3 separate regions of the Homo sapiens genome follow, and regions 2 and 3 are each linked to region 1. Evidence: promoter capture Hi-C in 16 types of primary human blood cells and fetal thymus (Javierre and others, 2016). All regions are on one chromosome and are shown on one strand. The core of a region is centred on a gene start or on the middle of the fragment in contact, and the rest is flanking DNA. Distances in the headings are between cores, read along the strand shown. Region 1 holds the start of C1orf122 (chromosome 1 open reading frame 122). Region 2 overlaps UTP11 (UTP11 small subunit processome component). Region 3 holds the start of GNL2 (G protein nucleolar 2).

Evidence for each region. Contacts are between HindIII fragments. The CHiCAGO score rates a contact against its expected background, and 5 or more counts as called.
Region 2: a contact is called between a fragment that was not itself captured here and the fragment with the promoter of C1orf122 in region 1, in 2 of 17 cell types (fetal thymus and monocytes). The highest score is 6.9, in fetal thymus.
Region 3: a fragment that was not itself captured here is called in contact with the fragment with the promoter of C1orf122 in region 1 in 2 of 17 cell types (non-activated CD4 T cells and fetal thymus); the score reaches 5.3 in non-activated CD4 T cells.

What each region holds. Positions count from the first base shown.
Region 1 is chr1:37,805,609-37,810,491 of GRCh38, forward strand. It overlaps C1orf122 (chromosome 1 open reading frame 122), which reads left to right and starts at 2,182. Exons shown (of 3, transcript NM_198446.3): 1 at 2,182-2,831; 2 at 2,923-3,124; 3 at 3,370-3,846. The coding sequence starts at 2,797. The coding sequence ends at 3,465. YRDC (yrdC N6-threonylcarbamoyltransferase domain containing) reads right to left here and starts at 2,600. Exons shown (of 5, transcript NM_024640.4): 1 at 2,184-2,600; 2 at 1,493-1,607; 3 at 1,249-1,368. The coding sequence starts at 2,572. MTF1 (metal regulatory transcription factor 1) reads right to left here. Exons shown (of 11, transcript NM_005955.3): 11 at 3,966-4,883. RefSeq lists silencers at 2,250-2,509, 2,690-3,239. The HindIII fragment of the contact is 6,155 bases long and covers 1-4,784 here.
Region 2 is chr1:38,016,237-38,021,119 of GRCh38, forward strand. UTP11 (UTP11 small subunit processome component) reads left to right here. Exons shown (of 8, transcript NM_016037.4): 2 at 123-184; 3 at 1,432-1,534; 4 at 2,228-2,341; 5 at 2,823-2,916; 6 at 3,017-3,147. Among named protein-coding and RNA genes, the nearest start is that of UTP11, 5.9 kb to the left of the region's middle. The HindIII fragment of the contact is 2,585 bases long and covers 1,096-3,680 here.
Region 3 is chr1:37,594,758-37,599,640 of GRCh38, forward strand. It overlaps GNL2 (G protein nucleolar 2), which reads right to left and starts at 1,180. Exons shown (of 16, transcript NM_013285.3): 1 at 1,002-1,180. The coding sequence starts at 1,065. RefSeq lists enhancers at 679-738, 909-1,098. The HindIII fragment of the contact is 1,567 bases long and covers 1,445-3,011 here.

The sequences.
Region 1 (4,883 bases), core at 932-3,431:
CAAGGTAAAAACCTCCCCTCCCTGTGCCACATCCCGATTCTTGCTCCTGGGGTACAGCCACCAGGACCAAGTCAAACCTGCACTCTGAGAATGGGAAGGGATGCTGAACTCTCACTTTCTAAGAACCCTGAGCCCCACTCTAGGTCTGGGAATGGAAAACCCATCGAATGGAGTTCTGAGCAGGGATACGGGCTCTAACTCTGGACTTTCCATCGTATCTCTATGTGACTGCACGCAAGTTACTCTATCCAGGCTTATTAGCTGGATGTAATAAGCCCAAGGAAGGCCCAAGGCCTGATGCTGGATACTATGTGTGATACTATGTGTCTGGCCGAGTCTGGGGACACAATGTAGCTTATTACTACGTTTTACATCTTAGTAATAAGAAAAAAAACGAAATTTCTATGTGTCCTCCTTTGTTCTAATCTATGTAGCCAAGAAAGGATTAGGATGATCCTTTCTTTGATCTGGCTTGTGGCAGAGATAAGAGAACAGGGGCGAGAATCAAAAACTGGTTAAAAATCTGAGTCAGTCACTTAATGGCTGTGTGACCTGGAACAAGTGATTTAACTTTCTGGAGGCTAAACTTCATCTTTTTTTTTTTTTTTAAGAGACAGAGTCTCGCTCTAGAGCCCTGCCTGGAGTACAGTGGCACAATCTGAGCTCACTGTAACCTCTGCCTCCCAGGTTCAAGTGATTCTCCTGCCTCAGCCTCCCAAGTAGCTGGGATTACAGGCATGCGCCACCATGTCTGGCTAATCTTTGTATTTTTTATTAGAGATGGAGTTTTGCCATGTTAGCCAGGCTGGTCTCAAACTCCTGACCTCACATGATCCACCTGCTTGGGCCTCCCAAAGTGCTGGGGTCACAGGCATGAGCCACTGCCCTTGGCCTTCTTCATCTTTCTTTACAGCACTGTCGTGAAGATTTATAGCCTAACTGTGTTCTCCAGAAACTGTTATCTCCAGAAAAACAGGAAGACATTGTTCTTATAATCTTTCCTATTATTATAAAGACTGAAGAAAAGACCAATTCTCCCCCTGGCTTTTCAGACTTTGAGATAAAATCTTTCAAATTTTTTTAATTTATATTGCCCCCCACCACCTCCCTGCCAGCTGGGCAACCTTCCCACTGTTGGCCCAAGAACTCTCATGCCTGGCCATCCCAGTGTACTATCAATGCCACTGATTCACAGAAAACAGTATGTGCGCTGGTGACATTTCCAGGGGAAGGACTGGGTAAACTCACCTCGACATTCAGAGAACTGGCCTGGGAGCTGAGGTTGGCACTAGTGAGAGCAAGCGGACCCTCAAACATCTGAGCCAAGTCTTGCATAAAAGCATGATCAGGAATCCGAATGCCTACAAGCTGTAAGGCAAGGGGAAAGGGATCATGAGAAAGGTTGGAAGGGATAAGAGGGTAAGTCTTATCTGGATCCTAGTGAAAGCCAAGTGGCCTGGAGTCTGGGGACACAAGAGAAAACTTGACTCACAGGCGTAAAAGGGTTTAGGTCCTTGTTGAGCTCCTCCGAGCGTTCCATCACCAGGGTCACTGGTCCTGGCAGTAGGTCTTTCAGGAGCCCCTCAGGTACTCTCACACGGCAGTATCTGGGAAACACAGAAGAATAAATCCATTCAAAATTGAAGGGCCACTGGTGGTCCTTTCCTAGACTCTAGGCAGACGTAGAAAAGGAATCCTTCGAGTTTACAATGGGAGCCGCCTGTCTCCCTGCTTCACCTCCCTAAGAGCTTGAGCAGAAAGCAGGGCTCCAGAGGCGCACCCCTGGCTTGACGCCCATGTGCCTCTGGTCTCAGGGACTACAACAGCTGCACCGCTGTGATATCATGATAGTGGGATCAAGCTCCACGTTTTATTTTCTTCAAGGCATTCGCTATTAAATTAAGCTACTGTGTTTGTTTGCTTTTTTCCCGGGGGCCTCCCCAATTAGCACAAATACGCCAAGGGAACAGGGTCCCTGCCTTTCTCGTGTGTTGCTGCTTCCCAGCAGCATGTAGTTCAGGGCCCGGGGCACGTTAAGTCCTCGGTACATATTTCCAGTTCCGGATTCCTTGGTGAGCCTGGACAAGCCCCTCCCGCTCTCTGCGCCTCAGTCTCCCAAGCCTGTCACCGGAAACCCCTCCCGCGGTGCCGCCCCTAGCGGGGCCGGGTCGGGGCGGCCTTACCTGTAGACGTCGGCCACGCGGCCGAGGCATACGGCCAGAGGCTTGGCCTCGCTGCGACCCTTGAGGCGGTACACAGCGCGCAGAGCCGCCGAGCAGCTCGCCGCGCAGGCCAGGCCGTACAGCGTATCGGTGGGGACGGCCACCACGGCGCCGGCGCGCAGCTCGGCCACGGCGGCCCGCAGCGCCTCGGTCCAGCCGGCGCGCTCCGGGCTCGCGGCCTGCACGGCCCCGCTCCCCGGGAGCCGCAACAGCCGGGCGCCGGGGGCCGCCGGAGCGGGACTCGGCGGGCGGAAGAGGCGACCGCTCCGGGAGCCAGCAGGCCCCTCGCTCAACCCCACGCTGGCAGCCACCGCGGCCCTCATCCCCCTGCACCGACGCGCCGGAGACATCCGCCCAGGCCCGCTTCCGGGAGGAAGTGACGCTCCCAGCCAGCTTCCGGTCCAGGAGACTCGGCCCCGCCTCTGCGCCGGGCAGCTTAAAGGGACCACGACCCCCAGGAGGATTGAAGGAGACCGGTGGGGACGGGGCGGGGCGCAGCCTTGCGAAGCCCTAACGCAGCGCTGGGGAGGGGGGCGGCCGAAAGGGGGGCGGTGGTCGGGCCGCGCAAGCGGAGATGGAATGGGGCCCGGGCTCAGACTGGTCACGGGGGTGAGAGGGGGCCCGTCGGGGCGGGAGGAAGGGGCTTGGCCCCGCGCAAGCGCCGGCCCTGACCGTCTGTCTCTCGCTCTCTCCCGGGCAGGGAGGCTGCCGGCGTGGACCGCGGGAAGGCGGGGCTGGGGCTCGGCGGGAGGCCACCCCCACAGCCGCCCCGGGAGGAGCGCGCCCAGCAGCTGCTGGACGCGGTGGAGCAGCGGCAGCGGCAGCTCCTGGACACCATCGCAGCCTGCGAGGAGATGTTACGGCAGCTGGGCCGCCGGCGCCCGGAGCCGGCTGGTGGCGGGGTTAGTGCCCACCCTGGGCTGGGCTGGGGTGGGGTGGGGTCTGCCCACTGGCTAGGCTGGCCAAGCCCTAGCTTACCCTGGAGGGGGGAAGTATGTCTCCGCCGCTTTATCCCTAACCTCCTTTGATCTGGTGAGAGGTTTCGAAAAAGTTAATACTATCCAAATGCCAAATGGCCACATCCTTGTGGGGCCTAATCCAAGGCCTTGCCTCCCAGCCTCACTTTTTTCCTTTCTGTTCCAACTAGAACGTCTCAGCCAAACCTGGAGCGCCCCCCCAGCCGGCTGTCTCCGCCAGAGGCGGCTTTCCAAAGGATGCTGGCGATGGAGCTGCGGAGCCCTGACCATCCCCGAGCAGAATACCCTGACTTCTCTCCCTCCCCAGGGCCGGTGGCTGGACTCTGAACAACTCCCTTCAGTAAAGGGGCCAGTCTTCACTGGCAGTGGCTGGTACTTGGCTCTCAGCCTGGAGTGGCAGCTCTGCTAGCAGCTGGGTTCACTCCCACTTCATCCTGGCTGAAAGCAGTGCTGTGCTTTGAAATGCAGCCAATGAATACCCAGTCTGATTACCCAGATTTGGGCAGACCAGCAGTGCTCGCCAGAGTGGTCTGGCCTGCTATGGGGGATCCAGGTGGTGTTACATGTCCATTTCATGTTTTGGGGGCTTTTAGCCCCACAAAACACCTTCAGTAGAGCCTTGATTAAAAGGAAACCTGCAGACTCTCCTGGTGACCGACGTTTCCTTTCTGTCCCCTCTCCAAGACTGATGGCTGGGAAGGGGGGAGTGGTGGAAAAATGTCAACTATGGGCAGGGTTGGTAAGAAATGCCACAGATACTACCAGATTTAAATAAGCATTTAATTAGGATTTCATTAGTATTTAATATTGCTTTTTCAATTCCAAAAAGTTAAATTTTCACTTTTTAGCAGATATTTTAAAGTACAATATTAAGTTTATACAAAATGAGCAATTAAGCAAACACCATTATTTCACATTCTTCAAAAATACAAATTCATATTTATTCTTTTTTGGGTTTGGAGGTTTCTTCCTTTGGAAGTACTGAACCTGTAACGTTTTCACATCGCTCAGTGGAAGTCCGTTGTTCCCATGTTTCACACTTACTTTTACATAATCCAAATAAAACTATTTGGGATTTTAAAAGTTGTCACCAAGACCCCGGCCAATGATTAGTGTATGTCAAAAAAAAGGGCTCTTGGGGGCTCTTGCCTTTCCTGGCTAGAAGATCTGAGCCAGAAATTCAGCAAAAATCTGTTTCCAGCCACCCTCCCCAAATAGGGACTAGAAAGAGTTCACAGGAAAAGGGAACAGACACCTTGAACTCTGACCCCCACCCCCACATTCTCCAAAACACAACGAAGGATGTAGACTGTTGAGTCAAATAGCCCTTGGGAGGCCTGAGAACACAGCAGGAAAAGGGCAAGAGAAAGCCTCTGACTTGGCACACTACGAGGATAACAAGGATATTGCAAAAAACACCCCTGGGTTTTGGTGCAAAAAGGTTTTATGAAAAATTTTCCCATAAGAAAAAGTAGAAACTGCATTGAGCTGAGAAAGTGACACTACATTATCACCCAATTTTTGGCCCAACAGGCACACCACCAAAAGGGCAGTGTGTGGTTTTAAACCTCAATTCCAGTAAAAAAGCTTGTACTATGTACACATTGACATAAAGATCCAGTTTAATTTGCATTTTTCAGTGCAGACTGAGAAGCCCTCTCTTGAACAGGAGTAACAGTGAGAA
Region 2 (4,883 bases), core at 1,138-3,637, 210 kb after region 1:
AGCTCCAAGGACTGGATTTACTGAGCACTCCAGAGACTCCTGTGCCTGTTAGATGTCGTGTTGATTTGGATATGTGTTTGCGGAGGAAACTAAGCACTGTTGTTCTTTCTTTTGTCTTCTAGCCTGGCTTTCGAAAACATCTGGGCCTGCTGGAGAAAAAGAAAGATTACAAACTTCGTGCAGAGTGAGTTCAGTCTTTCTGGTAGAGGCGCTGCCAAGAAAGCTTACAACCTCCTTGCACTGCAGCTGAATTGCCTGAGTGTCCAACAGGGGATAATTTCCTGCCATTGATAAAATGGCCAAAGCTCTGGCAGCCTGTCAGATAATTTTTTCTGTGATCCTAAATTTCTCTCTTTGTTTAGGCAGATCATTATTTATTTAACTGTAGTTGCATTGTGAATTATTTGTATTATGTTGTTCCAGATCATTTTCTCATAGTGGCTTTGATTTGGCTCTGCCTTGGTGTTTGAGCCCAAAGTTGAATCTTTTTCTCTTTGTTTTCTTGAAGTGCAGGATATAATCTGAAATTCCATTTGTTGAGTCTCTTACATCACCATGTGTGTGATGTGGAATGAAGAGATGTGAAAGATGGATTCATGAGACCAAGCGTGGGTGATAATGAACTCTGAAAACATTTTATAAAACAATTATCCCCATTCTTGTTCTCTGTTAGCACTTTGTTTGCAAAATACTTCTTAATTATTTGTTAGCGATACATGTCAGCTGAGGTCCTTTTTATGCCCCTGGTCTAGATGGTGGTGATGGATTAAATGGGTTTCTGTAGGTCCCAGAGATTTTAAGGCTAATGATAATTAAGTATTGTTATTGGGCCAGGCAGTGTTCTAGGATATTTACCGTTTTTACACTGATTTGTCCCTCCCAACAACCTTCTGGGATGGGTTACTATTACCGTATTCATTTTACAAATGAAATTGGGATTCAGGATGGTTAAATAACTTATCCAAGGTTACTTAGCCAGAAGTTGTCAAGTCCAGATTTGAACCCATGCTGTCTGGCTCCAGAGTCCATGATTCTAGTCATTGCGCTATACTGTACTGTGTAGTTTCTGAATTACATATGGTCATTTGGTGCCCAAGCTTGCACCATATCCTAAGGAGTTTTAATTTGTACTTTGTTTGGTGTCTCCCTGTAATGATATAAATGGCACTGAAACATATATAGGCTGGGGACAGTTAATTTCAGGTTCCACTGGAATAGGAACTGTTGATTAGACTGTGGACCCTGCGAAGACATGAGCTCAGCTCAGTGACAGTGGAGTGTCCAGATCCAGTCAGTGCTTTTGGCTTTTTTGAGTTTCACTCTGTGTGACCTTTTAGATGCTTGTAAAGTTTGCTTATTGTGGGTTTTTGGTTTTTTAAAATTATCTATTTTTTTTTTTTTGCTATGAACCTCATTTAACCTGTCTTTTAGTGACTACCGTAAAAAACAAGAATACCTCAAAGCTCTTCGGAAGAAGGCTCTTGAAAAAAATCCAGATGAATTCTACTACAAAATGACTCGGGTTAAACTCCAGGTGGGTGCCCAATGGCTTGGTTGGTGTTTTGAGCTCCACACATTGGAAAATAAGGACAGGGAGGAGATGGAGAGGAAGAATCGTTGGCCTTAATTTAACCCTTCTCTGGTTACTCCAGGTGCTCTTGGTCAGTGTCCAAGGCAAACCCTCCACTTCCAGAGGAGCGTGCATTTTTACCTTTGAATCTGGGTTGTCTTATACCTGGAGCTGTTCTAGGACAGATGACTGGAGGTGCTACATTGAACGTACGCCTCAGGGGCCTGTGTCTAGGATTGCTGTTAGCATACAGCATTTGGTTGTCTTTTTGTTTTTTTTTTTGAGATGGACTCACTCTCTGTTGCCCAGGCTGGAGTGCAGTGGTGCGACCTCGGCTCCCTGCAACCTCTGCCTCCCGGGTTCAAGTGATTCTCGTGCCTCAGCCTCTCGAGTAGCTGAACTACAGGCACACACTACTGTGCCCGGCTAAGTTTTTGTATTTTTAGTAGAGACGGGGTTTCACCATGTTGGTCAGGCTGGTCTTGAACTCCTGACCTCAAGTGATCTGCCCATCTCGGTCTCCCAAAGTGCTGGGATTACAGGTGTGAGTGACCGCACTTGGCCTATGGTTGTCTTTGTTCTAGCCGTGCACTGTGCCAACAACTTATTAATGATTTTAATCTAATAGGGAATATATCTTTTAAATTTGGATTTTAGGATGGAGTACATATTATTAAGGAGACTAAGGAAGAAGTAACCCCAGAACAACTAAAGCTGATGAGAACTCAGGACGTCAAATATATAGAAATGAAGAGGGTTGCAGAAGCTAAGGTAATTCACTCTTTGTTCTGATTGGTTTTATTGGTTAAGAAGGGAAACTTAAATTCATCAATCTCAAGTTATTCATTAATTTCTTCTGGCATTTACAATCTCACTTGATTGTAATAATGATTTAGAAGTATAGTTAGCATGGTAGAGTGGAAAGAGTTCAGGTTTGGGAATGAGACAGACCTAGGGTTTGAGTTCTGGCACTGCCATAAATTACTAGCCCCATGACAATGGGCAAATTCAACTCCCTGAGGCTCTTCCCTCATTTCTGTCTCAGGCGACTGTTGCAGGGATTAAGTGCGTCTTGGGAAGTGCCTAGCCCAATACCTGATATTTGTTGGGATCCTTTCCTTTAAAAGAATAAAGCAAGTTCTTTGCTGGCTGGCAATAATGATGTGAAATGGTTTAAACTTTTGCAGTTTTTTTTTTTTTTTGGTACCCTAGAAGAATCTAATATAAAGTGAGACCATATTCTGTGTTCTAGAAAATCGAAAGACTAAAATCAGAGCTCCATCTGCTGGATTTCCAGGGGAAGCAACAGAACAAGCATGTGTTCTTTTTTGACACCAAAAAGGAAGGTATGAAATGTTTGAAGGTTTCTGGGACAGTCTACCATGCCAGTCTGTGTCATTTGGTGTTAGAAACCGACAGTGCCTTAAGGATTGTCTTGAATTTTAGTTGAACAGTTTGATGTCGCAACTCACCTGCAAACAGCCCCGGAGCTAGTCGACAGAGTCTTTAATAGGCCCAGGATAGAGACCTTGCAGAAAGAAAAAGTGAAAGGAGTTACCAATCAGACTGGACTTAAGGTAATTTTCTCTGTTGTTCTTCACATGTGAGCTTAGGGGAATCTAGGTGTTTTTTTTTTGTTTTTTTTTTTTTGCTACTGCATTTAAAATAATTTTTAAAATTTATTTTATTTTATTTTTTAGTCAGAGTCTCACTGTCTCCCAGGCTGGAGTGCAGTGGCACGATCTCGGCTCACTGCAACCTCCGCCTCCTGGGTTCAAGCAATTCTCATGCCTCAGCCTCCCCAGTAACTGGGACTATAGGGGTGCAACACCACACCCAGCTTATTTCTGTATTTTTCATAGAGATGGGGTTTCGCCATGTTGGCCAGGCTGGTCTTGAACTCCTGACCTCAGTTGATCTGCCTGCCTTGGCCTCCCAAAGTGTCGGGATTACAAGCGTGAGCCACTGTGCCTGGCCTAAAATAATTATTTATTTATGGAAAACTCATGAGTTCCCTTAGAAAAGTGGATTTGTAGGATGATTTGATGATGGGATGGAAGTGGAGAAGGGCTTCCTAATTTCTATGATCGGAGGAGGTATAGTGGTCAGAAGCTTAGGTTCTGGCCTTTAGACCTGGGTTTGAATCCCAATTCTGACCCTGCGCTTTGTGCTTTTAATACTTGTAACAGATGCCAGTGTTTTGAAAATGCAGAGAAAGGGATTGCTGAAGATTAAAGGATTTGCAATACTTTAATATTGAACCTTTAGCAGTGAATACGCACATCAAAAGGTCTTTCTGTGTTTTTATTTTTCTTGAGACAGGGTCTCACTGTCACCCAGGCTGGAGTGCAATGGTGTGATTATGGCTCACTGCAGTCTCCACCTTCTGGGCTTAAGCGATCCTCCTGCCTCAGCCTCCTGGGTAGCTGGGACCACAGGTGTGTGCCACCATGCCTAGCTAATTTTAAATTTTTTTTGTAGAAACGGGGTCTCGCTAAGTTGCCCAGGCTGGTCTTAAACTCCTGAGCTCAAGTGTTTACTCCCGCCTTGGCCTCCTGAAGTGTTGGGATTACAGGCGTGAGCCACCATGCCTGCCCAAAAGGTCTTTCATATTGTGTATTGTAACAAAAATTTTGTTTTGGCTTTTCCTTATGGTGCTTTCCGTCACTGTAACTGGGTTGTGCAGAAGACATGCTTTTCCTGAAAGCCTTCTGGAGTTGAACTCTTCTGACTGATTCATTAAAAAAAAATGCTGTCAATGTGTTTCAAGCAGACAGCTGTTCTGTTTTGATTTGAATCATTTACACTGCATCAGTTTTGCTTCCAATGTTTAATTTCACAGCAGTTTTCTCTAGCTCAGAGGCAGCTAAACTTGCTTTAGTAATATAAATACCCCTAATTAGTTTGACTATATTGGGTAATCCCATAAATCTGACAGTCTGTGCAATAAAGCGAAAACAAAAGCTGTCTGAAACCACTGCTGTGAGACTGTGCTAGAATCTGTGAATTGTTGAAGTCTAAGGCCCAGTAATATTTCCTTCTGTAGATAACACTTCCAGCCAAAGAGCTTGCTCATGAGTGTTCTTGTGATAACCCTGTTGTTTGTCAATTAGGTGTACTTTTTTTTTTTTTTGAGACGGAGTCTCACTCTGTCACCCAGGCTGGAGTGCGGTGGCGTGATATCGGCTCACTGCAACCTCTGCCTCCTGGGTTCAAGCAATTCTCTTGCCTCAGCCTCCCGAGTAGCTGGGATTACAGGTGCCCGCCACCACGCCTGGCTAATTTTTTGTATATTTAGTAGAGACAGGGTTTC
Region 3 (4,883 bases), core at 978-3,477, 210 kb before region 1:
CTTGAACTCCTGACCTCGGGTGATCCGACCGCCTCGGCCTCCCAAAGTGCTGGGATTACAGGCGTGAGCCACCACACCTGGCCAGGAGCCCCTTAAATCACCTGTCTGGTCCTGAAGTGATACAGTAGAAGACAGGCTGAAACCACAGCCCATTGGCTCTCCTAACAGTCTCTAACAGTAGAAACTGGCGGCTCTACTACTACTCACTAACTGTTGCAATTATGACAGGCCACTTCCTGTATTTTGATTCAGTCTCTTCACCTGTAAAATCATAATCTCTAAGGGCCTTTTGGGGTCTAACATTCTGAGATTCCAGTTTGTGCAAAGTGAATAATTTATTATCAATCCGGAATAAACATTCAACTTGCATTAAAATTGTCAAAAATTCTAAACCATATTTTAAAACAAAGTTTTATTAATTAAACCTGAATGGAAGGAACTCTCCCATAGGATGTCTTGTTAATCGTACAGGTGGAACCTCGCCAAAACTTACACACATCTCCTAAACAGCCTTACTGCAATGATCATACTGACTTCTTTGTAGGGTTCTCTAAGCACTTTACCAGATAGAATAATTCCAAGGGCCAAAACTATAAGCCCTTTCTCATTTTAAAGGTCAAAGCTAAGGTGGCAGGCAAGTATGATCACGTGTAAAAGGCCCGAAGGGTCAACCTACACCATTTTTAATCTGACTTTCTCTGCATCTCTCAACTGGAGAGGACCCAAGGCTGTCAGCCTGAGTGTTCACTTTCCTTGACTTCAGACCAGTTGACTACACTTTGGCCTGCCAGGCGTGCACTGAGCCCTCCTCAGTTCCCCCCTGAGAAGAAACCACCACAAATATTGCTTTCCTTTTTCCCTTTTCATCCCCAACAGCCACCCCGCTCGTAGTCATTCTAAGCAATGCCACTCGAGTAACCCTCCTTCCCCTCCAGTGCTCCTCGGAGCCCTTCCCTATACTTCCTCCAAGCTCCACCCTCGATCAGCCCTGCCGCCTGTACCTGGGTTTGTGCTGGCCTTGGACGGGTTGATGGTGCTCCGTCCTTTGTACTTGGGCTTCACCATCTTGGCGACGAGACCGGGACCGGAGTGCGAGGTCCGGCTTACGTGGTGAAACAAACTTTTATGTTCCCAAGCCCGGCCGAAGACACCCGCCTGAACCACGCCGGACCACGTGTGCACGACGTACGTCACTTCCGCTCGCGTCCCTCTCGGCCTCAGAGCGACTTCCTGTGAACGCGCGGCGCGCGCCGTCACCCTCCTGGCTCCGCCCCCGCTCCAGCCGCCTAGGCGTCGCCCTGCGTGGAGCCCCAGCCCGCTCCAGCCCTAGCAACCGCCAAGCTGCCCGTTCATAGCAACCGCCTAGTTAACCTGAACGCGCGGCCAGAGCTCCCAGTTGGGTCCACCTCCGAATAAAGAAGCTTCTTCCCAGGCCAGTGGCACAAGCTTAAGTTTGTCTTCTGAATTTGTCTTCTAAGTCCTTCCAAAAGTTGCCGACCACACAGCAGCCAAATATCCGTTAGGAGGTGTCATTCTCTTCCTTACAACTCCAGTGGCTTATCATCACTCTTAGAATGAGAGGTAGGGGAAGGGAGAAGGGAGAAACAGACAGAGACAGAGATTGATTCAAACTTTTTGCCATCCCTACAGGATTCTGTGATCTGGCCCCTGCCTGCCTATTTATCTAATCTCATGTGTACGTCCCTCCCTCTGGTTATTCTGACATTTACACTGGATATTCTCTCTGCCTGAATCACTCTTTCCCAGAATCTTTGCATAGCTGTCATTCAATCCTAAGCTCAAATATCACCTATTGGTAGGCCTGCAAGAATTAGCAAATAGAAATACAGGACACCAAATTAAATTAGAATTTCAGAGAAAAAAAATGAATACTTTTCTTTAGTACACCTCCAACAGTGCCTGGAAAATACTTAGACTAAAAAAGTATTCATCGTTTGCCTGAAATTCAAATGTAACTGTACGTTCTGTATTTTATCTGGTGACCCTTCCTGCTGTGAGAACTCATTCCTGTCTAATTTGTCTAAATCAGCCACCTTTCACCCTTTCACAGTTATTCTGTTACAGTATTCTGTTTTATTTATTTCATGGCATTTATCACTAGTTGAATTTTTTTTACAAGTTTATTGGCTGCTTCCCCCAAACTAGAATGTAAGATTCTTAAAAGCAGGGACCTTGTTAATTTGTTCACTGCTGTGTCTTTAAGACTTGAATAGCATCTGAAACAAAGGACTCAAAAAATATTCATTAAGTGAAAGAATGAGTAGATGGGAATGTCTCTTGCCTTGAGGATGAAGGAAGGCATTAAGACCCAGTGATTTCTGTTTCTACTAGCCAGAATAAAGTGTCTAGATGCCAGTGTTTGAACCAAGAAGCCCTCTCTCTTTTTACAATTTATTTTTTGTTTGTTTGTTTTTGTTTTTGTTTTTTGAGACGGAGTCTCGCTCTTGTTGCCCAGGCTGGAGTGCAGTGGCCCGGTCTCGGTTCACTGCAACCTCCACCTCCCGGGTTCAAGCAATTCTCCTGCCTCAGCCTCCCAAGTAGCTGAGATTACAGGCGCATGGTATCATGCCCAGCTAATTTTTGTATTTTTAGTAGAGACGGGCTTTCACCACATTGGCCAGGCTGGTCTCAAACTCCTGACCTCAGGTGATCCACCTGCCTCAGCCTCCCAAAGTGCTGGGATTACAAGTGTGAGCCACCTCGCCTGGTCCCTCTCTCTTTTTTGGTACCTCAAATTGTCAGAAAATGGCCATCTTTGTACCCTCTGGATAGGCCAAAGAAGAGATGGTTAGGCAAGAGGAAGGGTGGATTCATGCAGTGTAGCTCATTTCATAAAAACAAACAATTTGTTATAAAGTGAGGTATTCTAATTGAGCAGGGGATGATTGAGTCTTTATTTCTCTGAGTTTGAAACAAACCCCAAAACATTCTCTTTAGAGCAAAAGCAGGCCATGTCATAGGCTAGAGCTGGAAATACCTTCTGTCCCTCAAGCTTCGCTTTTATTGCCCCAAGGGCAAGTATCATGAGATTAAATGCAGCTCTGCTGGGAAGGCCCTGACTGTGACCTGTGTTAGGGAAGCTCTGAGAGCTATTTGGAAAAAACTTCATGATCAGTGAAGATGCCCCCTTCCACCCCACACTGTCCCTCTGATCCCCAAAACAAGGATACCATAGCCTCCTCCCAGAGAGAAGATTCAGTTAATGTGTTTCTGATGCCTCAAGTTGGTGCAAACCAGAATAAACACGGATGGCAAAAATCAGCCTATGAGCTCATTCAGGCTTTGATCAGAGACATAATTTCATTATGAAATTTTGAATCAGGCTGTTGTGAAGTCTTGCCAAGGAGTTTCATTTTCCCAGATGATATGGTGGGTTGTTTCTCTCCTGTTCTCATACTCTGCTTGCATTTATCTTACAAACTTTCCATCTATTTTTATAATCTGACCCATCAATCCTTTTACAACAATATTTGCCGATCTCGACAACCAACTTCAATTCTACCAGCAGATAAAAAGCCTGATCAAGGTAAGTCAAGCTTAAGTTACTGGTTTGATTTGCCTGCCCTGCTTGCCGCATTGTAATGCAGTGACTATTTTTCACTCTCTTTTCTGATGTCATGCCAACTAGCAGAGGCAAGATACACCTCCAGGTCTACAGTTCCTCAGCTTTAAAACAGATGCAATAGCTTAACTACTCTGAAAGACTGCAATAAGATCATATGAGTTACAGTATATGAAAGCATCGCAGACATGGTACACATCATGCAGATGGGATGCTTTCTATTTTTCTTCTTTTTTTTTTTTTTTTTTTTGAGATGGAGTCTTGCCCTTTCACCAGGCTGGAGTGCAGTGGCATGATCTCAGCTCACTGCAAACTCTGCCTCCTAGATTCAAGCTATTCTCATGCCTCAGCCTCCCAAGTAGCTGGGATTACAGGCACGCACCACCATGCCCAGCTAATTTTTGTGTTTTTAGTAGAGACGGGGTTTCGCCATGTTGGCCAGGCTGGTCTCAATTTCCTGACCTCGAGATCTTCCCGCCTCGGTCTCCCAAAGTGCTGGGATTACAGGCATGAGCCACTGCACCGGCCAGGGATGCTTTCTATTTTTCTCAAAATCCAAGGTGAGCTACTCATCCCCTCAAATGTTGCTCCTGGTAACCACAGGTTTGTGTGAATGAGAAGACCTTAATGGATGGAGACTGGCTGGAAATGCCATGTTCTGGACTGGTGTCTTCACAGGAAGCAGACAATCCTGACCTTACTTTTTTTTTTTTTTTTTTTTTTTTCAGATAGAGTCTTGCTCTGTCACCCAGGCTGGAGTGCAATGGCACGATCTCAGCTCACTGCAACCTCTGCCTCATCAGTTCAAGCAATTCTCCTGCCTCAGCCTCCCGAGTAGCTGGGATTGCAGGCACCCACCAGGACACCCAGCTAATTGTTGTATTTTCAGTAGAGATGGGGTTTCGCCATGTTGGCCAGGCTGGTCTTGAACTCATGACCTCAGGTGATCCACTTGCCTCAGTCTCCCAAAGTGCTGGGATTATAGGCATGAGCCAGTGTGCCGGGCCCTGACCTCACTTTTATCTTCATTCTGTAAAAAGTTTATCACTGGGGTCTAATGGGCAAATAGCAGCAGCTTCTAAAGCAACATTTTTTAAAGTGTGGTCTGAGAACCACAAGCATCAGAATCACTTGGGGGATCTGTTTTAAAATGCTGGGCATGGTGGCTCATGCCTGGAATCCCAGCACTTTGGGAAGCAGAGGCAGGTGGATCGCTTGAGCGCAGGAGTTCGAGATCAGCCTGGGTGACATGGTAAAACTTTGTTTCTACAAAACATACAAAAATTAGCCAGGCGTGGTG